Regions from separate parts of the Homo sapiens genome. Here all the other regions are linked to region 4. Evidence: promoter capture Hi-C in 16 types of primary human blood cells and fetal thymus (Javierre and others, 2016). All regions are on one chromosome and are shown on one strand. Each heading gives the region's core, a stretch centred on a gene start or on the middle of the fragment in contact. The rest is flanking DNA. Distances are from core to core; before and after follow the strand shown.

The links. The method cuts DNA at HindIII sites, captures the fragments that hold promoters and counts their contacts. A CHiCAGO score of 5 or more calls a contact.
Region 1: a fragment that was not itself captured here is called in contact with the fragment with the promoter of CEBPD in region 4 in 1 of 17 cell types (neutrophils); the score reaches 6.4 in neutrophils.
Region 2: a contact is called between a fragment that was not itself captured here and the fragment with the promoter of CEBPD in region 4, in 1 of 17 cell types (monocytes). The highest score is 5.4, in monocytes.
Region 3: a fragment that was not itself captured here is called in contact with the fragment with the promoter of CEBPD in region 4 in 3 of 17 cell types (neutrophils, M2 macrophages and M1 macrophages); the score reaches 8.9 in neutrophils.
Region 5: a fragment that was not itself captured here is called in contact with the fragment with the promoter of CEBPD in region 4 in 3 of 17 cell types (monocytes, neutrophils and M1 macrophages); the score reaches 11.4 in monocytes.
Region 6: a fragment that was not itself captured here is called in contact with the fragment with the promoter of CEBPD in region 4 in 5 of 17 cell types (monocytes, neutrophils, M2 macrophages and 2 more); the score reaches 11.9 in monocytes.
Region 7: a contact is called between a fragment that was not itself captured here and the fragment with the promoter of CEBPD in region 4, in 4 of 17 cell types (monocytes, M1 macrophages, M0 macrophages and 1 more). The highest score is 11.8, in monocytes.

Annotation. Positions count from the first base shown.
Region 1 is chr8:47,458,155-47,461,410 of GRCh38, reverse strand. The region is part of intron 8 of SPIDR (scaffold protein involved in DNA repair); the gene reads right to left. Among named protein-coding and RNA genes, the nearest start is that of SPIDR, 200 kb to the right of the region's middle. The HindIII fragment of the contact is 1,557 bases long and covers 495-2,051 here.
Region 2 is chr8:47,479,292-47,482,503 of GRCh38, reverse strand. The region is part of intron 8 of SPIDR (scaffold protein involved in DNA repair); the gene reads right to left. Among named protein-coding and RNA genes, the nearest start is that of SPIDR, 220 kb to the right of the region's middle. The HindIII fragment of the contact is 9,555 bases long and covers 1-3,212 here.
Region 3 is chr8:47,422,293-47,425,719 of GRCh38, reverse strand. The region is part of intron 7 of SPIDR (scaffold protein involved in DNA repair); the gene reads right to left. Among named protein-coding and RNA genes, the nearest start is that of SPIDR, 160 kb to the right of the region's middle. The HindIII fragment of the contact is 6,012 bases long and covers 1-3,427 here.
Region 4 is chr8:47,736,246-47,739,550 of GRCh38, reverse strand. CEBPD (CCAAT enhancer binding protein delta) reads left to right here and starts at 1,387. Exons shown (of 1, transcript NM_005195.4): 1 at 1,387-2,638. The coding sequence starts at 1,431. The coding sequence ends at 2,240. SPIDR (scaffold protein involved in DNA repair) reads right to left here. Exons shown (of 20, transcript NM_001080394.4): 20 at 3,245-3,305. RefSeq lists silencers at 559-1,028, 1,119-1,198, 1,239-1,348, 1,839-2,028 and an enhancer at 1,425-2,363. The HindIII fragment of the contact is 19,422 bases long and covers 1-3,305 here.
Region 5 is chr8:47,403,961-47,407,156 of GRCh38, reverse strand. All of the region lies in intron 6 of SPIDR (scaffold protein involved in DNA repair), which reads right to left. Among named protein-coding and RNA genes, the nearest start is that of SPIDR, 140 kb to the right of the region's middle. The HindIII fragment of the contact is 4,676 bases long and covers 1-3,196 here.
Region 6 is chr8:47,438,557-47,441,630 of GRCh38, reverse strand. SPIDR (scaffold protein involved in DNA repair) reads right to left here. Exons shown (of 20, transcript NM_001080394.4): 8 at 1,089-1,308. Among named protein-coding and RNA genes, the nearest start is that of SPIDR, 180 kb to the right of the region's middle. The HindIII fragment of the contact is 3,630 bases long and covers 1-3,074 here.
Region 7 is chr8:47,379,319-47,382,403 of GRCh38, reverse strand. The region is part of intron 5 of SPIDR (scaffold protein involved in DNA repair); the gene reads right to left. The region is part of intron 1 of LOC107986940 (a long non-coding RNA gene); the gene reads left to right. Among named protein-coding and RNA genes, the nearest start is that of SPIDR, 120 kb to the right of the region's middle. RefSeq lists enhancers at 133-668, 669-1,205. The HindIII fragment of the contact is 1,420 bases long and covers 946-2,365 here.

The DNA.
Region 1 (3,256 bases), core at 24-2,523, 280 kb after region 4:
GAATCCGGGAGTGAGCCGAGATTGTGCCACTGCACTCCAGCCTGGTGACAGAGCGAGACTCCATCTAAAACAAAGAACAAAGCCTCCAAGAAGTTTGGGATTCTGTTAAATGACCAAACCTAAGAATAACTGGTGTTCCTGAGGAAGAAGAAAAATCTAAACATTTGTAAAACATATTTGGGGAAATAATTGAGAAAAACTTCCCTGGCCTTGCTAGAGATCTAGACATCCAAATACAAGAACGAACATCTGGGAAATTCATCACAAAAGATCATTGCCTAGGCATACTGTCATCAGGTTATCTAAGTCAAAATGAAGAATCTTAAGAGCTGTGAGGCAAAAGCACCAGGTAACCTAAAAAGAAAAACTGATCAGATTAACAGCAGATTTCTCAGCAGACACCCTACAAGTTAGAAGGGATTGGGGCCCTATCTTCAGCCTCCTTAAACAAAACAATTATCAGCCAAGAACTTTGTATCAAGTGAAACTAAGCTTCATAAATGAAGGAAAGATACAGTCTTTATCAGAAAAACAAATGCTGAGAGAATTCGCCACTACCAAGCCAGCACTATGAGAACTGCTAAATGGAGGTCTAAATCTTGAAACAAATCCTGGAAACACATGAAAGCAGAACCTCTTTAAAGCATAAGTCTCACAGGACCTATAAAACAAAAATATAATAATTAAAAAAGCCACCAAGGTATACAGCCAACAAATAGCATGATGAATGAAACAGTACCTCACATCTCAATACTAATGTTGAGTGTAAATGGCTTAAATGCTCCACTTAAAAGAAACAGAATAGCAGAATGGATAAGAAGTATCTGCTGCTTTCAAGAGACTTACCTAACACATAAGGACTCAGATAAACTTAAGGTAAAGGGGTGTAAAAAGACAGCCCACGCAAATGAACACCAAAACTGAGCAGGAGTAGCTATTTTTATAACAGACAAAACAAACTTTAAAGCAACAGCAGTTAAAAAGGACAGAAAAAAATAGCAAAAACCACAATTACTTTTGCACCAACCTAATATAAAAGGCCTTGTCCAAAACGAAAATATCACAATCCTAAATATTCTATGCACCTAACACTGGAGCTCCTAAATTTATAAAACAATTACTACTAGACATAAGTAACGAGATAGACAGCAACAAAAATAATAGTGGAGGACTTCAACACTCCACTGATAGGACTAGACAGGTCATCAAGACAGAAAGTCAACAAACAAACAATGGATTTAAACTATGCCCTGGAACAAATGGACTTAACATATTTACAAAATATTCTACCCAACAAACACAGAATATACATTCTATTCATCAGTGTATGGAACTTTCTCCAAGATAGACCATATGATAGGCCACAAAACAAGTCACAATCAATTTAAGAAAACTGAAATTATATCAAGTACTCTTTCAGACCACAGTGGAATAAAAATGGAAATCAACTCCAAAAGGAACCTTCAAAACCATGCAAATACATGGAAATTAAATAACCTGCTCCTGAATGATTACTGGGTCAACAGTGAAATCAAGATGGAAATTAAAAAATTATTCAAACTGAAAGATAATAGTGACACAACCTATCAAAAGCCCTGGGAGACGGCAAAGGTGGTGGTAAGAGGAAACTTCATAGCCTTAAATGCCCACAACAAAAAGTCTGAAACAGTACAAACAGACAATCTAAGGAACTAGAGAAACACCTCAAGGAACTAGAGAAACAACAACAAACCAAACCCAAACCAGCAGAAGAAAGGAAATAACCAAGATCAAAACAGAACTAAATGAAATTGAAACAAAAAAAATACAAACGATAAATGAAACAAAAAGCTGGTTCTTTGAAAAGATAAACTGACAGATCATTAGCAAGATTAACCAAGAAAAGGAGAGAGAAGATCCAAATAAGCTCAATTAGAAAAGAAATGGGAGATATCAAGACTGACACCACAGAAATACAAAAGATTATCTAAGGCTACTATAAACACCTTTATGCACATCAACTAGAAAACCTAGAGGATGCTGAATAAATTCCTGGAAAGATACAGGAAGCTTAAATCAGGAAGAATTAGAAACCCTGAACAGACCAATAAAAAGCAGCGAGGTTGAAACGGTAATAAAAGAATTACCAAGAAAAAAAACTTCCAGGACCAGACAGATTCACAGCTGAATTCTACCAGACATTCAAAGAACTGGTACCAATCCTATTGACACTATTACACAAGATAGAGAAAGAGGCAATCCTCCCTAAATCATTCTATGAAGCCAGGATCACCCTAATAACAAAACCAGGAAAGCACATAAGACATGCAAAAAAACTACAGACCAATAACCCTGATGAAAACAGAAGCAAAAACCCTTAACAAAATACTAGCTAACCGCATCCAACTATCAAAAAGACAATCCACCATGATCAAGTGTGTTTCATACCAGGGATGCAGGGACAATTTAACATATGCAAATCAATAAATGTGATACACCACATAAAAAGAATTAAAAACAAAAATCACATGACCACCTCAACAGACACAGTTTAAATAAAGCATTTCACAAAAGCTGGCATCCCTCAAAATCTGGCATCCCTTTTTGATTAAAATCCTCAGCAAAATCAGCATACAAGGATGTACCTCAATGTAATAAACCCACAGCCAACATAATACTGAATGGGGAAAAGTTGAAAGCATTCCCTCAGAGAACTGGAATACGACAAGGATGTCCACTTTCACCATTTCTATTCAACATAGTACTAGAAGTCCTAGCCAGAGCCATCAGACAAGAGAAAGAAGTAAAAGGCATCTAGATCAGTAAAGAGGAAGTCAGACTGTCACTGTTTGCTGATGATATGATTGCATACCTAGAAAACCCTAAAGACTCCTCCGAAAAGCTCCTAGAATGGATAAACGAATTCAGCAAAGTTTTAGGATACAAAATTAATGTACACAAATCAGGAGCTCTGCTACACAGCATCAATGACCAAGCTGAGAATCAAATAAAAAACTCAACCCCTTTTATAATAGCTGCAATAAAATAAAATAAAATAAAATAAAATAAAATAAAATAAAATAAAATAAAATAAAATAAAATAAAATACTTAGGAATATGCTTAACCAAAGAGGTAAAAGGCCTCTGCAAGGAAAACTAAAAAACACTGCTGAAAGAAGTCAGAGATGACACAAACAAATGTAAACACATCCCATGCTCATGGATGGGTAGAATCAATATTGTGAAAATGACCATACTGCCAAAAGCAATCTACAAA
Region 2 (3,212 bases), core at 379-2,878, 260 kb after region 4:
AGAATGCAAGCAAAGGCATCAGCTAGAGATGGTCTCATCTAGGAGACGAAGTCATGAGACTTTTTTTTTTGAGACAGGGCCTCGCTCTGTAGCCCAGGCTGGAATGCAGTGGCACATCTGAGCTCACTGAAACCTCCAGCTCCCGGGCTCAGGTGATCTTCCCACCTCAGCCTCCTGAGTAGCTGGGACTATAGGCACACCCCACTATGCTCGGCTCAGCCTCCCAAAGTGCTGGGATTAGGTCAGAAATGGAAAGATGTATATGAGATTGAGGAATCCCAAAGGGTACAAAAAATAGGAATGAATATGCGTTTGAGAGAAGATTTCAAAGCATAGAGGTAAACACTGAGGGTGGAACTGCTCATGACAATATCAGCAACAGAAGGGAAGTACGTACTTCAGGTACAAATACCCACTGACCACGCTCAACATGTGCTGTATATAACCTGTAAACTGAGTCCTCACATGAAAACTGACAGATGCTAAGACATGAAGAACCATGCCAAAATGTGTTATTTACTCCAAATAGAACAATACATGAAAAATGTTGGCTTTAGTCTACATTAAAAGTGATATTATCAACTATTTGCAATTGAAGGCAGATCACTACCTTACCTAAAATGCAGCTGAATATTTTAAGAACAAAGGGCAGAGACTAAGAACTCCACTATCTCCAGAGAGTTCCCTTCAATGACTTCAAGTGGTCCTTTCTAGTCTTTTTTAAAACTCAATTATGTAGAGTCAACCTTGTCAATCATATAATCAGCTTGGTCACTCACATGGGCTGGTCTCCCACAATTGTTTTCCTACCTCCAAGTTCTTTTTTTTCCTTTGTATTCATTCTGTCCATAGTCATTAAATACACATTGAACACAAACACTGAAGTGGCCAGAAATACAGTGGTAAGCAAAACAGGCAGTGCCCTGATGGAGCCTCCCAGGTTCAGGCGATTCTCCTGCCTCAGACTCCAGAGTAGCTGGGATTACAGGCATGTGCCACCCTGCCTTGCTAATTTTTCTATCTTTTTTTAGTAGAGACGGAGTTTCTCCATGTTGGCCAGGCTGGTCTCGAACTCCTGGCCTCAAGTGATCTGCCCACCTCGGCCTCCCAATGTGCTGGAATTACAGGCATGAGCCAACGCATCTGGCCAACCATCAATCTTGGAACTTAGAGCTGCATTACAACTCTCAGTTTTTCACTTAACATTATATATACAAATGTCCAATTATATATCTCTTTCCCCAGATCTCTCTCATACAATACAAAACCTAAACAGAATGTAATGACGAGAAAAGACCATTACACCTTATAGCAGTCATAACACTGTGATAGTGACCAAGAAGTCAGTCAGAAGACAGCAGCACCTCACATATATTCAACAGTAACATCACAAAGATAGCATTAGAGCGGTGATTCCTGTGCTGTCTTTCAAGAAAGAGCCTTCACCTTTTCTGCCATTACCACCATCACTATTCAACAATCTCATCATGGCAGCTGGCTTTGCCAATTATCTTGAACTAACTTTTCAATGTCTCTTTTTGCTTTCATAACAAAGAGTGGTTGCTTTTATCAACATTCCATAAGGTCCAGCAAGGTTAATAAAATTACCATTAAAGCCTCTGAAGTTTGTACAATGACAAATCAAACCCATTCCCAATGTAGGGCTTAATCATTATAAAGGAATGAAGAAACCTCTCATAGGGCCTCAGGAATAGATGCTGAGACCCTTCCTGCTCACTTGGCTCATCTGGACAGGAAGGAGAAGATGCTGTGCCTTTTCCAGACTCTCAGCTGTGCCTCATATAAACTCTGAAATCCAAGTCAGGCCACATGGGAGCACACAGGCTGTGCGCCGATCCCTGAGAGCAGCGAGAACACTTGATCCCAGATTGTACACTTTCAGTTTATATGAACGAAGCTGTTCACCATTCTGACATTTGACGTCATCCACCAACTACCCACTAACACTATCTATTAGTGCAGAATGCTTGGAATTTCCTCATTTTTAAGAGCTGGAAAGTTTCAAGTACAGACCTTACATTTTAACAAAATAGTACATGCTATTACTTTCAGGGATTTAGGACCTTTCCTCCTGGATTACTCAATTAGGACATACTCATCTAATCAAATACTTAACCCACACATTAAGAGACAAACATGTTTGTATCTAAGATATAGCTTTTAAACAATTCCATGAACACTGTAGGGTAACATTTTAAATCAGGTAACTGCTTAATTGCTTTCCTCCTAATCTTCTACTTTAGACATTAAATCCATCTTGCCTTTTCTTTATATTCACCTCTAAATCTTCAGTGCCCAGCACAGTATTCAACTGTGGCCAGGCTGGTCTCGAACTTAGGCAGGCTCTCATGAGTAGTGGATGGATACATTTTTCTTCATTAGGTAGACTTTAAACAGGAAAATACTGGTAAAATAGGTGAAGAAGTTCTCCAAGATATTATTTTACTTTTTCTTTCACCCTGAGCCTCAAATGAGATGAATTCACCTTTTTTGGCTGGTGGTCAAATCTTTTTACTGTGATTCATTTAAAGCTCAAAACATCATGAGGCACAAACTAAGAGAAACTGGATGCTAAACACTGAAGAAGCTATTGTAGTTCTCACAGCACTATGGACTTGAACTGTTAGTGTTCCTAGCTGCTGTTCAGTTCTTGGGCACAAGCTATTCTGCTTTCTAAAACTGATAAGCCTTACTTCCCCAAACTTACAGTTCTATTAGTCTACAAGAACTTTCCACTAGAATGTGTAGCAAATTCCTTTCTGACAAGTTGCCCTGAGCCCCTCCCTTCCTGGTCTGAAAAGAGCAGGCTGGCTTCAGGCCACTCCCCAGCCCCTGCTCATGGCTGCTTTACCACCTGAAGGAGAACCTCAGCCACAGGATCAGGTGCAGCTCTCCCTGCATTCCCCCCTACTGCCCCACTTTACTTGGGGAGTGGAATTCCGCTGTGGGCTGTGCTGCTAAGCTCACCACAGGAGCCTGTTTATGACCTTGAGACAGAAGTTGTACCTGCTATGGGAGTCAGAGCAGGGGAAACCTTCTCTTATAAGATACTTTCCAGCAAAGTAAGACAGAATTGTGCTCCACATGTCTTTCTTTTCTTTCCTTTCTTTCTTTTTTTTTTTTTTTGAGAGAGTCTCACTCTGTTGCCCAGGCTGGAGTGCACTGGTGCAATCTCGGCTCACTGCAGCCTC
Region 3 (3,427 bases), core at 596-3,095, 310 kb after region 4:
TCTTACTGAACTTCAATAATAACCTAAAGAAATCTTTCAAATATAATAATTTTATACAAGAAAAAATATTTAAAATATGGAACATTTAAAATCTATTACACAAAATATAATTTTTCTAGCAAGAACAAATAGATAGCAAAACTTCCACCATCCCAAAACTGTTTAGGCACCTCACATTGATATTCTGGCTGAGAAACTAGACAGAGGTTGTATTTACCCACTGTAAATATGAAGCTCGCTTCCATAGCCTGTCCTGCACAGCTCCTACCATGCCCATGCAGACCCTGCACTTTACTAACCTGTCCCGATTTTCTCTCTCTGCTTGTCATCCATCTAGTCCACTAAAAGAGAAGGTCTAAGGGTGCAGTGACCAGATCTTGCTTATTCACAGTGTATCTTTAGAGCCCAGCAAGGAGCCTGGCACACTGGAGGCCCCTGCTGAGCAACTGCTGAGTAAATGAATGTGACCTGCCAGCTTGGTACCTGTGACCCTCACTTCCCACTATCCCATCTCCACCACCAGATATAGTGACCAGTAAAGCATTTACTTCACACAACAAGAATAAACACAGAAATATGAGCATATATAAAATTTTCATCTGGATGATTGAAAAACACTGAGAATATTACTTGGTTGCTTACCCTCTATAATACAATTTAAATAAGAATCATTTTTTTAAATTAGCTAACGGAAGTGATCTTAAATTTCAAAAATAAAGTATCTTGCTTAAGAATAGGCAGTTAAAGTCTGGGCAAGGTGGTTAATGTCTGTAATTCTAGCACTTTGGGAGGCCGAGGCAGGCTCTACTAAAAATACAAAAATTACCCAGGGGTGGTGGCAGGCGCCTGTAATCCCAGCATACTCAGAAGGCACAAAAATTGTCTGGACCCAGGAGGCGGAGGTTACAGTGAGCCAAGGCTGCGCCACTGCACTCCAGCCTGCACAACAGAGCAAGACCTTTCCCTTTCCCCCAAAAAATTTCATCATGAAAAATAATTTATCTGAAGCCCATCAATTTCTTTGTTATCACTGGTTCTTCTTTTTTCTTTACTCTCTTCCTGTATAACAAAGAAGGTTTTTTGCATTTAAGAACATCTAAGGGTCCGGGTATGGTGGCTAACGCCTGTAATTCCAATTCATTGGGAGACTGAGAAGGGAGGTTCCCTTGAGGCCAAGAGTTCGAGACCAGCCTGGAAAACATAGGAAGACTCCATTTCTGTAGAGAAAAAAAAGAAATTTTTTTTTAAACAGCTGGGTGTGGTGGCATGTGACTGTAGTCCCAGCCACTCTGGAGGTTGAGGTAGCAGGAGCCCTTGAGCCCAGGCGGTTAAGGCTGCAGTGAATTGTGATGGTGCCACTGTACTCATGCCTGGGCAACAGAGGGAGACCCTACTCAAAAAAATAAAAGAACATTTGTAACTACTTTTAGTTTTAAAAACTATGATATCAAACATATTGTGAAAAAAATTGTCACCCTGTTACTAAACAGAGATCAAACAACGGAGCCAGGGTGCAACCACTGCTGCACTCACATCTCCTGAACTCAGTTCTGCCCAGACCTGCCCCTAAAACAAGTAGGCTATGAACATGGGCCACCAAGTTAGGCTGCCCAATGTAAATCTGGCTCTGCTACCCACTGGCAGGCACACAAGGCTGTACCCATCCATATTCTCCTGTGTCTGCATTGTCCTCATCTCTAAAATAAGGAGAGCAGGACCTAACTGGAAGGGTAATTGTGATTAATATACATGCAAAATGCTTTGAGTATCACTTAGTAATCACTGTTCACCATCATGCAGATAATGAGCAAAGCAATGTTGGAAACTGTTTCCTCTTTTAAAAAAAGAAAAATACAATGATTCGTGAAGATAAATAGAACGTATTTTCCCCTTGCCTCTATAGCTGTCCATTCTCTATGCCACAGCTACATTTTAAAGTGCAGGTTTCCAAGGCACTACCTTGGAAGTGAAACCCAGCCAAGGCCTCCAGGCCCTGCATGATCTGGGCTCCCCTGCCCACCCCATGCCATTTCATCAAACTGCATTCTCTGCAAGGCCTTTGGGTGCAACATCTGTGCTTTTTGCTGCTCTTTTATTTTTTTATTTTTATTTTTTTTTCAGACAGGGTCTTGCTCTGTTGCCCAGATAGCAGTGCAGTGGCGTGATCTCGGCTCACAAAAACCTCTGCCTCCCAGGTTCAAGTGATTCTCATGCCTCAGCTTCCAGAATAGCTGGGATTGTAGGCGTGAACCACCACACCTGGCTAGTTTTTCTGTATTTTTAGTACTTTTTCGCCATATTGGTGAGACTGGTCTCAAACTCCTGGCCTCAAGTGATCACCTGCCTCAGCCTCCCAAAGTGCTGGGATTACAGACATGAGCCACTGTGCCTGGCTCTTGCTGCTCTATTTTTTTTTTTTTTTTGAGACAGAGTCTCGCTCTGTTACCTAGTCTGGAGTGTGGTGGCGTAATCTCGGCTCACTGAAACTTCCACCTCCCAGTTCAAGCGATTCTCCTGTAACAGCCTCCCGAGTAGCTGGGATTACAGGAGCCCACAACATGCCAATTTTTGCATTTTTAGAAGAGACGGGGTTTCACCATGTTGGCCAGGCTGGTCTCGAACTCCTGACCTTGTGATCCACCCACTTCGGCTTCCCAAATTGCTGGGATTATAAGCATGAGACACCACACCCGGCCTTTGGCTGTTCTTTTAAAGTCAAACTCAATACCTTCTCAGTGTATCACAAAGAATCTTGAGATATATGTCTTTTATACTGAAATGTACTAGAAGCCACCAACAAGGAAGATAACATTGATTCTTAAAAGTTACAAGTAGGAGTTATAAAACAGCCCAGCAAAGTCAGCTACTCAGGAGGGAACAAAGGAAAAACTGACATCCACATACCAAAGATGTTAAAAAAAAATTTCTTAAGCCTAGAAAGATGTATTAGAATTCACTGCAGAGGGGTGGAGCCAAGATGGCCCAACAGGAACAGCTCCAGTCTACATCTCCCAGCGTGAGCGACACAAAAGACATATGATTTCTGCATTTCCAACTGAGGTACCGGGTTCACCTCACTGGGGATGGTCAGACAGTGGGTGCAGGACAGTGGCTGCAGCACAAAGAGCGTGAGCCGAAGCAGGGCGAGACATCGCCTCACCCGGGAAGCACAAGGGGTCAGGGAATTCCCTTTCCTAGCTAAGGAAAGGGGTGACAGATGGCACCTGGAAAATCGGGTCACTCCCACCCTAATACTGCGCTTTTCCAATGGTCTTAGCAAATGGCACACCAGGAGATTGTATCCCGCACGTGGCTCGGAGGGTCCTACGCCCACAGAGCCTCGCTCATTGCTAGCACAGCAGTCTGAAATCAAACTGCAAGGGGGCAGTGAGGCTGGGGGAGGGGAGCCCGCCATTGCTGAGGCTTG
Region 4 (3,305 bases), core at 138-2,637:
GAGTAGCTGGGATTACAGGCGCACGCCACTACGCTTGGCTAATTTTTGTATTTTTAGTAGAAATGGGGTTTCACCATGTTGACCAGGCTGGTTTCAAACTCCTGACCTCAAGTGATCCGCCCACCTCAGCCTCCCAAAATGCTGGGATTACCGGCATGAGCCACTGTGCTCGGCTGAAAAAAACCATATTTTTAATTTAAAATAATAAATGGGTCTGACCAGAAATGCCTGCCTCAAATTGCAGGACACATGACAAAGCCCATTCTTACTTAAGACATTTTCAGTGTGCGATGGGTCTACCGGGATGTAACCCCATCGTGAGTCGAGGCCCATCTGCACCCTGCTATAGCTACTGGTAGATCTTACCTGTTTCCCAAAAAGGACCCAACTACTTTAGGTTCAAGGCACTTTTTTGGAATATTTAACAGGGAAAGAGCCTGGAACTAAAAACAGGTCTAACGCAAGATGCCGCCACACGATGGCACTGCTTCCGTAGACCTGGAAGAAACGCGGGCGCGGGAGCTGGCGGCGGACGCCCGGGTCTGCGGGGTCGGGGAGTAGCGTCCGGCCGGAGAGCCCGCACCTCGAGGAGCCGGCGGAGGACGCGGTGTCGTGACCGCGTCTCCCCCATCTGCTCTGCTTTTGGCGACAGCGTCCCGTCGGCCTTTCGGCCAGGACGCAGCAGCCGCGTCTCTGGGCCTCGACCCCCAGGGCCGGCCGGACCCGGGACCTCCGAGGAGAGCAGCGAGAACCGGCCCGGATTCCCCGAGGCGCCCGAGTGCGGTGCGGGCAGCCCTCCCCGCCTGCCAGGCCGCCGCTGTCCCCACGTCTGGTCCCCCACGCCTCTTCCCGCATCTGGTCCCACGGTGGAGGCGCGGGGCGAGGGCCTCACGCGCGTGCCCACGGTCGGGGGGCGTCCTTGGACGCGCGGGTCCTCTCCCACGGGTCTCCACCCCCCGCCCTCCGGCGACAGGAGCCGGCCTGGGACGCGCGCGCTGCGGCCAAGTCCTGGTTTTGATTTCACTCCCAACCCCGAGGAGCGAGGAGGTTCCAAGCCCACAAACAGGAAGAAGAGAAGGCCCTGGAGTGCTGGCAGAGGGAGTGTCATTCCCAGCAGCGCAGCGCAGGCCGGCCCGGGCCGGGGAGGGAGCAGCAGCGCGGGCACCCTCCTGCAACGTGGGCTGGGGGTCCCCAGGGCCGGGGAGGGGGCCCCGGGGAGGAACTGAGAGGGGGCGCGCCCCGGGAAGGCTCGGGGCGGCTCCGGGGGGCTCCCAGGGCGCCCCCGCCCCTTCCCCCGCGGCCCCGGGGCGCCCCCGCGGTGCCGGAGTCGGGGCGGGGCGTGCACGTCAGCCGGGGCTAGAAAAGGCGGCGGGGCTGGGCCCAGCGAGGTGACAGCCTCGCTTGGACGCAGAGCCCGGCCCGACGCCGCCATGAGCGCCGCGCTCTTCAGCCTGGACGGCCCGGCGCGCGGCGCGCCCTGGCCTGCGGAGCCTGCGCCCTTCTACGAACCGGGCCGGGCGGGCAAGCCGGGCCGCGGGGCCGAGCCAGGGGCCCTAGGCGAGCCAGGCGCCGCCGCCCCCGCCATGTACGACGACGAGAGCGCCATCGACTTCAGCGCCTACATCGACTCCATGGCCGCCGTGCCCACCCTGGAGCTGTGCCACGACGAGCTCTTCGCCGACCTCTTCAACAGCAATCACAAGGCGGGCGGCGCGGGGCCCCTGGAGCTTCTTCCCGGCGGCCCCGCGCGCCCCTTGGGCCCGGGCCCTGCCGCTCCCCGCCTGCTCAAGCGCGAGCCCGACTGGGGCGACGGCGACGCGCCCGGCTCGCTGTTGCCCGCGCAGGTGGCCGCGTGCGCACAGACCGTGGTGAGCTTGGCGGCCGCAGGGCAGCCCACCCCGCCCACGTCGCCGGAGCCGCCGCGCAGCAGCCCCAGGCAGACCCCCGCGCCCGGCCCCGCCCGGGAGAAGAGCGCCGGCAAGAGGGGCCCGGACCGCGGCAGCCCCGAGTACCGGCAGCGGCGCGAGCGCAACAACATCGCCGTGCGCAAGAGCCGCGACAAGGCCAAGCGGCGCAACCAGGAGATGCAGCAGAAGTTGGTGGAGCTGTCGGCTGAGAACGAGAAGCTGCACCAGCGCGTGGAGCAGCTCACGCGGGACCTGGCCGGCCTCCGGCAGTTCTTCAAGCAGCTGCCCAGCCCGCCCTTCCTGCCGGCCGCCGGGACAGCAGACTGCCGGTAACGCGCGGCCGGGGCGGGAGAGACTCAGCAACGACCCATACCTCAGACCCGACGGCCCGGAGCGGAGCGCGCCCTGCCCTGGCGCAGCCAGAGCCGCCGGGTGCCCGCTGCAGTTTCTTGGGACATAGGAGCGCAAAGAAGCTACAGCCTGGACTTACCACCACTAAACTGCGAGAGAAGCTAAACGTGTTTATTTTCCCTTAAATTATTTTTGTAATGGTAGCTTTTTCTACATCTTACTCCTGTTGATGCAGCTAAGGTACATTTGTAAAAAGAAAAAAAACCAGACTTTTCAGACAAACCCTTTGTATTGTAGATAAGAGGAAAAGACTGAGCATGCTCACTTTTTTATATTAATTTTTACAGTATTTGTAAGAATAAAGCAGCATTTGAAATCGCCCCTGCTTCCTATATTCGCAGTGACTCCCGCCCGCCCGCCGGTGGCGCAGGACCCGGCTCGGGAAGGGTGCGTTCCGGACCCGCAGCCAGCGAGCACCAGGGAGCCCGGGCGCCAGGTGTGTGTGTGGGGGGGGCGGGGGGATGGGGCGCAGGCCCGAGCTACTCAGGAGAGAGGGTCTGTCGCTTTTAAAACGCATTAAAGGCTCTCTCCTGGCCTTATTTAACTTGCCTAAGCTAGGTGGAGCACGGCTGAGCTCAGGTAAGCTAGCAGCTTTCCAGCAGAAGGTGTTCTCCCGAAGAACGCAGACCTGGGGAAGGGTTGACTTTTTGGGGGCCCCTGCTGAGAACAGTTCAAGAGCTCCCTAACTGTAGAGGCTGCTGGAGGGGCGAGGGGCAGAACCCCGGGCTGAATCATCTCCCGCTTTCCCGGGACTTTGCTTTCACTTTCCTCAGTCTTGTGGACAGAGTCAAGTAGATTTTCAAAAGTGCTCCAGAAAGGCCGGAATAGTCATGTAGTGGATGAAAAGGGCAGTCACAAAACTGCTTAAGACCAGCTGTCTTGCCAGTAATTGCAGTGCTTTAAGATTTAATTAAAAAGCCGCCTGCCTTTAACCCAAGAACACTTGGTATTAGGGCACCATGTCTTGGTCACGGCTGCTACGTGTAT
Region 5 (3,196 bases), core at 577-3,076, 330 kb after region 4:
TACTTACTGAGATATATTTATGCTTATAAATATATAGGTGTATGTAAATTATAAGTAAATAAATACATGCATATGTAGAGAGAAAGAGAAGTTATCAACTACTAACATAACTATAATTTCAAGAAAAATTAAGATCAGTTGTTAATTACCACTATAGCTACATGCTATATCGGGTATCAATGTATTATCTCATAAGTTTATTATCTTGTTACCAATTCATTAATCATTTCACTACATTACCTTTATTCAAATAATATCCCTTTGAGACTGAAAGAACAGATATCAGTACCCACTGCACAGATGATAAAACCAGAATTTAGAGAGAGGTTAAGAAACTTCTCCAGCATTACGTAACTAACCAGATGAGGAACTAGCTGTTAAAACCAGAATGGACTTAGTGCAGCACGTGGCATTTAGTAAACCTTCAAAAAATGCCCATGATTGGTGTAACTGTTTTTGTTATGTTTTTCACTTGCAGCCTATATACAGATCTTTCCATTATGATGGAAATATTTTAATAAATACATAATATTGCTAGTATTAATACCTATAGAGACACCTAGTATGTTTTCCTATAGGTTACTATTTCTGAATATACTTGCGTGTAGTACATGTAACAGAAAAAAAGTTAAAACCTCTTATGCTCAGAAATATGCCATAGCACCTCTACATGTCAACCTCTACTTCCTATTAAGCCCTTCTTCATATCATTCTGTTTACATGAAGTAACTCGTTTATGCTTCCCCTTTACACAACACCGTGAAGTAGGTACTATTATTATTCCACTTTATAGATGACAAACTGAGGCACCAAGATGTTAAACATCTGTCCAAGGTGAAATGTCTAATGAGTGGTGTAGCTGGATGCACGCCTAGGCAGTCTGGTTCCAGAGTTCAAACTCTTAGTCTTGATAATATACCTAGCACCTCTTAAACAGTATTATTTAAAATGATATGCACAATAAATACAAGAAGCAAATGCTGTATTCTTTGCCCAACTATCTAGAACATTATTTGCCAAATGTTGCTTTTCAATGCTGTGACCTTACAGAAAAAAAAAAAAAAAGGCAAAATGAACTCTGAAAAAACTATCTGGTTAAAGTCAAGCCTAGAACCTCGTAAGAAAACTGTGCAGATTACAGGATGAAAGGTAAAAGCAACAGTAAACATGCACAGGCGCTCTCTACACACAGCAGTATCTGGAGCCCTCAGAAAAAATCTGCATCTCACCTGAGTTTGGCCATTAGGGCCTGTTATGCAGGGAATTCCAGTCACATGCACTTGAACTTAAGAACTTGAGCTTAGGAAACACCATGTCCTCTAATCAACAATCCTATTTCTAGTAAAAACATATCTCATGTTAAAAAAAATTAAGTCATACCAAAAGTTCAGGAAGGCCCTGCCATCTATATCCAAATTAACTCTTTTGAACGTAGCCAGATAAGTTATTTATAAAGGCCAAACTCCGATGGAATAAAAATATGATGAATTCACTCAGCAAGTTAAGATATCCTAATTATCTTTTCTATAAAATTAACAGACTGGTAACCTATCTCAAAAGATGACTGGTATCAATTTGACATTGGTAAACATTTCTATAAAAACAATATGGAGAAGTAAAGAAGGATAAAGATTCAAAAATATTCCAACTGATTTACAGTCAAAATATTTTTAATAAGCTATACAACCAGGTAAAGAATAAACAATTAAAATGACTGTAAATACAATATTTTAAAATTTTGGTTTATTTTTATTATACTTTAAGTTCTGGAATACATGTGCACAATGTGCAGGTTTGTTAAATATACATATATATATACACACACACATATATACACACACACACACACACACACACACACACACGTGCCATGTTGGTGTGCTGCACCCGTTAACTCGTCATCTACATTAGGTATTTCTCCTAATGCTATCCCTCCCCCATCCCCCCACCACATGACAGGCCCCGGTGTGTGATGTTCCCCTTCCTGTGTCCAAGTGATCTCACCGTTCAACTCCTACATATGAGTGAGAACATGCGGTGTCTGGTTCTCCTTCCCTGCGACAGTTTCCTCAGAATGATGGTTTCCAGCTTCATCCATGTCCCTAACAAAGGACATGAACTCATCCTTTCTTACAGCTGCATAGCACTCCATGGAGTATATGTGCCATATTTTCTTAATCCACTCTATCACTGAAGGACATTTGGGCTGGTTCCAAGTCTTGGCTATTGTGAATAGTGCCACAATAAACATACGTGTCAATGTGTCTTTATAGCAGCATGATTTATAATCTTTTGGGTATATATCCAGTAATAGGATTGCTGGGTCAAATGGTATTTCTAGTTCTAGATCCTTGAGGAATCGCCACACTGTCTTCCACAATGGTTGAACCAGTTTACAGTCCCACCAACAGTGTAAAAGTGTTCCTATTTCTCTCCACATCCTCTCCAGCACCCGTTGTTTCCTGACTTTTTAATGATCGCCATTCTAACTGGTGTGACATGGTATCTCATTGTGGTTTTGATTTGCATTTCTCTGATGGCCAGTGATGATGAGCATTTTTTCATGTGTCTATTGGCTGCATAAATGTCCTCCCTTGAGAACTGTCTGTTCATATCCCTTGCCCACTTTTTGATTGGGTTGTTTGATTCTTTCTTGTAAATTTGTTTAAGTTCTTTATAGATTCTGGATATTAGCCCTTTGTCAGATGGGTAGACTGCAAAAATTTTCTCCCATTTTGTAGGTTGCCTGTTCACTCTGATGGTAGTTTCTTTTGCTGTGCAGAAGCTCTTTAGTTTAATTAGATCCCACTTGTCAATTTTGGCTTTTGTTGCCATTGCTTTTGGTGTTTTAGACATAAAGTCCTTGCCCTTGCCTATGGCCTGAATGGTATTGCCTAGGTTTTCTTCTAGGGTTTTTAAGATTTAGGTTTAACATTTAATGCTTTAATCCATCTTGAATTAATTTTTGTATAAGGTGTAAGGAAGGGATCCAGTTTCAGCTTTCTACATATGGCTGGCCAGTTTTCCCAGCACCATTTATTAAATAGGGAATCCTTTCCCCATTTCTTCTTTCTGTCAGGTTTGTCAAGGATCAGATGGTTTTAGATGTGTGGTATTATTTTCAAAGGCTCTGTTTTGTTCCATTGGTCTGTATCTCTGTTTTGGTACCAGTACCATGCTGCTTTGCTTACTGTAG
Region 6 (3,074 bases), core at 115-2,614, 300 kb after region 4:
TCAAAAACAAAGCAACAAAACAAACCCCTGCCCCCTAAAAACGTAAAAAGTCAAATGGTAAATGGGGAACGAACTAACTGCAATGTATATGACTGACAAGGCACTACTTTTTTTTTTAATCATTTATAAAAAGATGGTAGAAATCACCAGGACCAAAGTGACCAAAGAGAAGAAAGGTCAAAAGCTATCAATGGACATAAAATGAAATTCAAGTGGTTCTTAAAAACATGTAGAAAAATGCCTAAGCCCATTTTATATAAGAGAAATATGAATTAAAATGATAAACATCATATTTCCAATTTTTAACTTGGTCTAGATCAACAAAGTAGGTTTGTAAAGGAGAAGAAAAAGGCACTTCAGGCATTGCCAGTGGGAACGTAAAATGGTGCCATTTGACAAAGTCTGCTAAAATTAAAGAAGCACTGATCCAGCAATAATATTTATAAAAATTTATCCTATAGCCCTTCCTCATACATACAAAATGAAAACTTATAAAAAATTACGAAAAAATTAATAATTAGCTCTTAAAACAAGGCTGCTCAAACTTTTCCTCAAAAGTAGTATGATTTTCTTCTATTCATGGTAAAAATCAATATCCCACTGCAAAAGACAGCACACATAGTATCCTTTAAAATAATTTCTGATCCAATAATGACCATTTTTGCTCCTGCAATTCAAACACTAGTATATCTTAATTCATGCTTTTTATCCTCCCAAGTGACTAAGAAATATTTAATTAATGTGTGTTATCCTACTGTCACATAATGCCTGTTAACAAAATTATTTTTCTAAGAAATATAAAAACAAAAACAGCCAGATCTTATAACACATCACTTGGGCAAGAGTCTTAATATGGTTGTTTCCTCAACCCTCTCACCCCAAATTATCAGAAATATGCTGACAGAACTAGAAATGAGCTATCAGAGACAATCCAGTGCTTCTCTGACAGAAAACCCACGTCCAATCCTGGCTCTCTTCCTCTCGCATTGCTCTATGATAAAGTGACAAAAATGTAACTGATAAAAATGTCTTTTCTTACGAGGCTGACTCACAGTTGGTGACTGCTGGATTAAGTTCTGCGCACTCACCAGGGAGGGAAGATCCGGACAGTGTCCTGGGGACGGCCCCTGAGGTAGCCTGCAGTCTCCTTGGTGAAGAGAACTTTCAGGCCAGCTCCAGGCCTGGGAGCCACACTTTGGGAGGAGCTGGTGGCTGGTGACCCCAATAACTGCTCACACATGGCAACTTGCATGGCACATTCCTCATGCAGCTCTAAAATTTTCACAGTTAATACACCAGATTTTCTACCTAGAAGTTGAAGAAAAGAACAAAGCAAAAATGAAATCAAAAGACAGATGGTTCAAGCGTGAATAAAGTGTCATGAAAAAAAGATCCACATGCAGATAGCACTCTTCACCTGGAGAAAATGGTCTCCACATTTTGCAAAGTAAAACAGAGACACTACGATGCTCACTATAACACTTTTCTTTAATCAAAATAGGCCTGCATGTTGCATTTAATACATGGATTTTAAGCAGCATAAAATAAAGTCTTCTGTCATGAAGAAATAGTCCTGTACAAATAGAAACCTTAGACCCGTCATTTTAAGGAGCATGCGTTTTACTCCAAGTCTGAAATCCTTTGATGACCACAAGGAGAATATGGCCACTGTGGATTCTTCTTAAGGATGGACCCTCCTCTTTATTATCTGTTTTGATTCTCTGCTTTGAAATCATGTATGTTACTAGCTGGCTGCAGCTGTTCCAATGATCAGAAAGGCTAACAGTTGAAGAGTTATGTGGACTGCTGGGTATTAGAGCTCTAGATTGAAATGGGTGGAATTTGATCTGGATTCAAGTGCTGGTTTCCTTATTAAGTTGGCCAAGTTCCATGGCATTCAACTGTTAAATTGTCTTATGTGTAAAATGGAGATCCTGCCACCTGCCCCAGGAAACATTTGTTCAGATTAAATGAGATAACTGAAGTTGATAGTGTGCATAGCCTATACCCCAGAAATCTTAGGTAGGTACCCAGAAACTGTCAGATGCACCAATATACCTAAACAAGGATACACATCTCAGCGTTGTTTATAAGAGTAGAAAACTGCACCCAGCATAAATCAGAAAGATGGGTAAACCATGGTGTGTTCATACAACAGAACACTGTACGGCACTTAAAATGAGGTGAAGTAGACGTCTAAGAATCAGATGGAGAGGTCTCAAGAAATGAAAGGGGATAAACAGGATATACAGAGTATGACACCTATAATGTAATTTTAAAAAACACAGAAATCAATACAATAGTTTATGAATACAAGATGAGTATAAAAACATAAATAGAAGGATTCACAGAAAAGTCATGAAAGCCACTGTCTCTAAGGAGAGAGAAAGAGGAGTATGACTCAGGAGGGGAACCCAGAGGGTTTCAAATTTATGTGTCATATTGTTTCTATTATAAAACTATGGGAAACTAAAAAAAGACAAAGGATTGACATGTGTTACTAATTCTAGGCAGTGAGCATGCTTATGTGTTTCTATTATTCTCTGTGCTTTTTAATTAAAAAAAATAAAAAAATACATAAACTGAGAACAACAAAAATGAAGGGTACAACATACTGCCTTGTTAATAACAGATACTCACTAATATGAGTTTCTTTACCACTTCAGCCAACTAGGTTAATAGTGAATAGTAAAAATTAATATTTAGACGGTGCTAAGATTTTAATCATCTATTTCTTTCTCCCTCTCACTTTTTTTTCATTCATTTCCCATTCAACCCCAAATTTTTCATCCCTTCCTTTATGTAGGTGTCCATGACACATGTCCATATACTGGGCCCTGGGCCACCTTGCCTCCCCTAAGCACTGTCTTGGACAACTATTTCTTAAGGCAACTATTTCTGGGCACTGTCTTGGACAACTATTTCTTAAGGCAAGAAAACAGAATGGGGGAAGGATATGAATAAGCACAATGTACAAGCAGCATATAACGAGCTTCTGCTGGTCACTCTAGGGAAGGGAACAGAGGAATGAAACCAACTTGTAAAGAAAGGCACTAAGAAGTGAACACACAGAT
Region 7 (3,085 bases), core at 406-2,905, 360 kb after region 4:
AAATTAATTAGCACAATGCTTTATATAATTCAATTGCTACTCTTTAAGCTAATGTTACTTCCTGTAATCTTACCTACACATTTCTTTATGAAATGTTCAGAAAAACTTCTTGTGATTGCCCTGAATACCTGAAGTGCTACCCTTGAACTGCAGTGTCCCAGTTCCTATCAATCAAATCTTAATCTAAGTCCATGTATGACAGTCTACACGTGTAGGGTCCTCCTAGATGAAAACCTGTGTCTGCTATCAAGTCAGGAAGACATTGAAGTCTAATTTCAAGATGAAGCAGTGCCTCTTTGGTATGAAACAAATTAGCCAGATGAAACACCATTCTTTAATGTTCAGAAATTAAAGCTCTTGATTCTAAAATTTATAGAAAGGTCACACCAAGAGCAATAATGGAATATCACTAATAAATTATCACATCCTTATTTTAAAATTACACCTTTGTAGCTAAATGCTACCCAGCTGGTAGAACAAAGGGAGGATGGTAACTAAACTAATATCATTATTTGAGATAACCAATCATAAGAAATAAAACTTCACTTGACTCATATTTCATGCAAAAACAAAAGTCTCAAGTCTTTGGTCTTGGCCAACATGCAAAGGCGTGCCACGGGGCGGCTCTGTGAGGACACCTTGTGCGCCTGGTGCCACGTGGGGCAGGTCCAGCTGAGCCCAGACTCGCAGGCCAGGTGAGCTGCCCATGCCACTTCCTGCCAATCGCTGGTTTCTGCTCTCTGAGGCCTCCCACCCAATTACTGACCAGGCCCAGACCTGCCCGAATAGGATCTTCTGAGAACACCCAGAGCAGTGTTATGCCAAGTTCACCCTGCCTATCCTGAGTTCAGCCTCCCTTTCTTAAAGTCACACTACAAACGAGCACAGTCAGTAGCACCATAAGGAAAGAACAAAGAGTCAGAAGGCCCTGGCTGCCTAGAAGCTTTTAAATCCCATACAAACCACTGTTTTAAGGAGGTTGGATGGTAAGAGCAACAACAAAAATGCTACAGAAGATACACCATGGCAAGTAAAATAATCAAAACCAAGACTGCTCTTCACACTGAGGGGAATGAAAGAGTACTGGTGGCTGACAGGTCAATAGATTTGGTTATCATATGCCTGCGTTTCCACTCTCACTTCTAAAATGAAATTTATTCATGTAACACATTAACTGAGTGCCTGTGTATCAGGAATCATTCTGGGTACAATGGGTACAGAGGGAGGGAAGGAGGGAGGGACCCAAAGTCTTTATCCACAGGTCTATTACCCCAGTGCAGCCATGGCACACATACACACATTAATTCATGTAGAATGCTCTCTGTTTACGCGTTAAGAACTTCACTGGTTGTGTGGAAAAGAACAGCAAAACAACACAAAATAAAGAGTATATTGGACTCCCAGTTGCTAACAAAATTTTATTTTCTATTGAATTAAAACCAATAAAGCAACACCAATTCCAGACAATAGAAAGGCTTAAGCCACCAATAAGAGATCTCCTTTCACTGTTTACATGGTGTGCTTTTTGTGACTGAAACTTTATCCGTGAAAATCAGCCAGCTAGTGAGAGGCAAAACAAAAGCTACAGGTTTTCTCATACATTCAAGGAAAAAAATATTTTCTGAGGTAAACAGGTTTAACAAGCTACACCCATAGTTACACCTCTGAAAACCACCTGGCTTGCCTTCCTTAAACTAGATACATGTTTCCAACCTCAGCTGCAGCTCAGTGAGAAGGAGAGAACTTAACTCAAACCTATGGACTGGCTTACAGAAGCCCCCTCCACCTATCGTCAGCCTGGCACCTGCTCTGAGGAGCCCAAGGAGAAATGACAGACAGCGGGGCAAGAGGGGAGGGGAATCACGAGGCTCAAGAAAGGCACCTGCCGGGTCAAAGTTCACCAAGCAGGAGTGGAGGGTGGAGAAGGCGGCAGTGACCAGGGCCAGGGGGCTCCACAGCAAACAGCAGGCCCCGCCCAGCAACACGGTCCTCCGAGGTCCTGACGCACCTTGTCTGCAGTGATCACAGATGAAAAGTACCCCCTTCTCCAAAAAAAAATAGTGTACACCTGTGGAATTCTGACACAAACTGTGATACGACCTGTCTGGCCATTCTGTGTGTTTTAAAACCTGCTCAGTGAGTGTGAGTCCTGAGCTGCTGCAAGGGAGCCTTCTGCCAGGCCCAGGCAGGGGCAGCACGCGTTGCTGTGGTGCAGGCTGAGAGGTCATCGACTCAGACCTACACTCAAAACCTGGGCCTCAAAATTAGTAGAAACAAACACGATGGCATGTTTTAAAAATAAATCTGTTCACTTATGCCCCTGGACCCAAGGCAAGACAGGTTGCTTCTGGTTATGAGCCAAGCTTTATTTTTATTCAAGGCAAAGAATTAAAATGCTACACAATGGGTGGGGAAAATGGAAGAAATTGAGAGAGAAGTCCTGAGAAGGTAGCAAATTTCAGAGGAATCAAGCCAGGTGAGTGTTCTAGGATAACAAAAGCAATAAAGAAAAGCAAAAGCAGTAACCAGTGAGTGGACAGCCCTGAGCTGTGGGCCCAGGGGGTGCTCCTCACCCAGAAGCTCCACAAGGAGCAAAGGCAACAGGGATCAAGGGGACACAGAGCTCCGCAGGCACATGGGCTTGAATACACTCAGGTGAATAAAGTTAAACAGGCCTTGTCATAGGCCCCAGAAACCTTGAATATGCTTGTGTGCACTGTGCCCTCTACGAGGAGTCTGCAGTAAGTAGTCTTTCCTAAACTCCTTTAGCCACAATTTAACCAGTGTTTCACTGTACCTCATGGAGCTGAATTCTCTAAAATCTTATATTTTAATCATTTTAATGAAAAGCTCTTGCAAGTGAAGTTTTCCATGATTTCTTCTTTCACCCAATTCACCCAGGCTGGAGGGCAGTGATGCTATCTTGGCTCACTACAACCTCCGCCTCCCAGGTGTACCACAGCCTCCCGAGTAGCTGGAACTGCAGGTGTGCACCACCACACCTGGCTAATTTTTGTATTTTTTGTGGAGATGGGGTTTCATCATGCTGCCCAGGCTGGTCCCAAACTCCTGGACTCAAGCCATC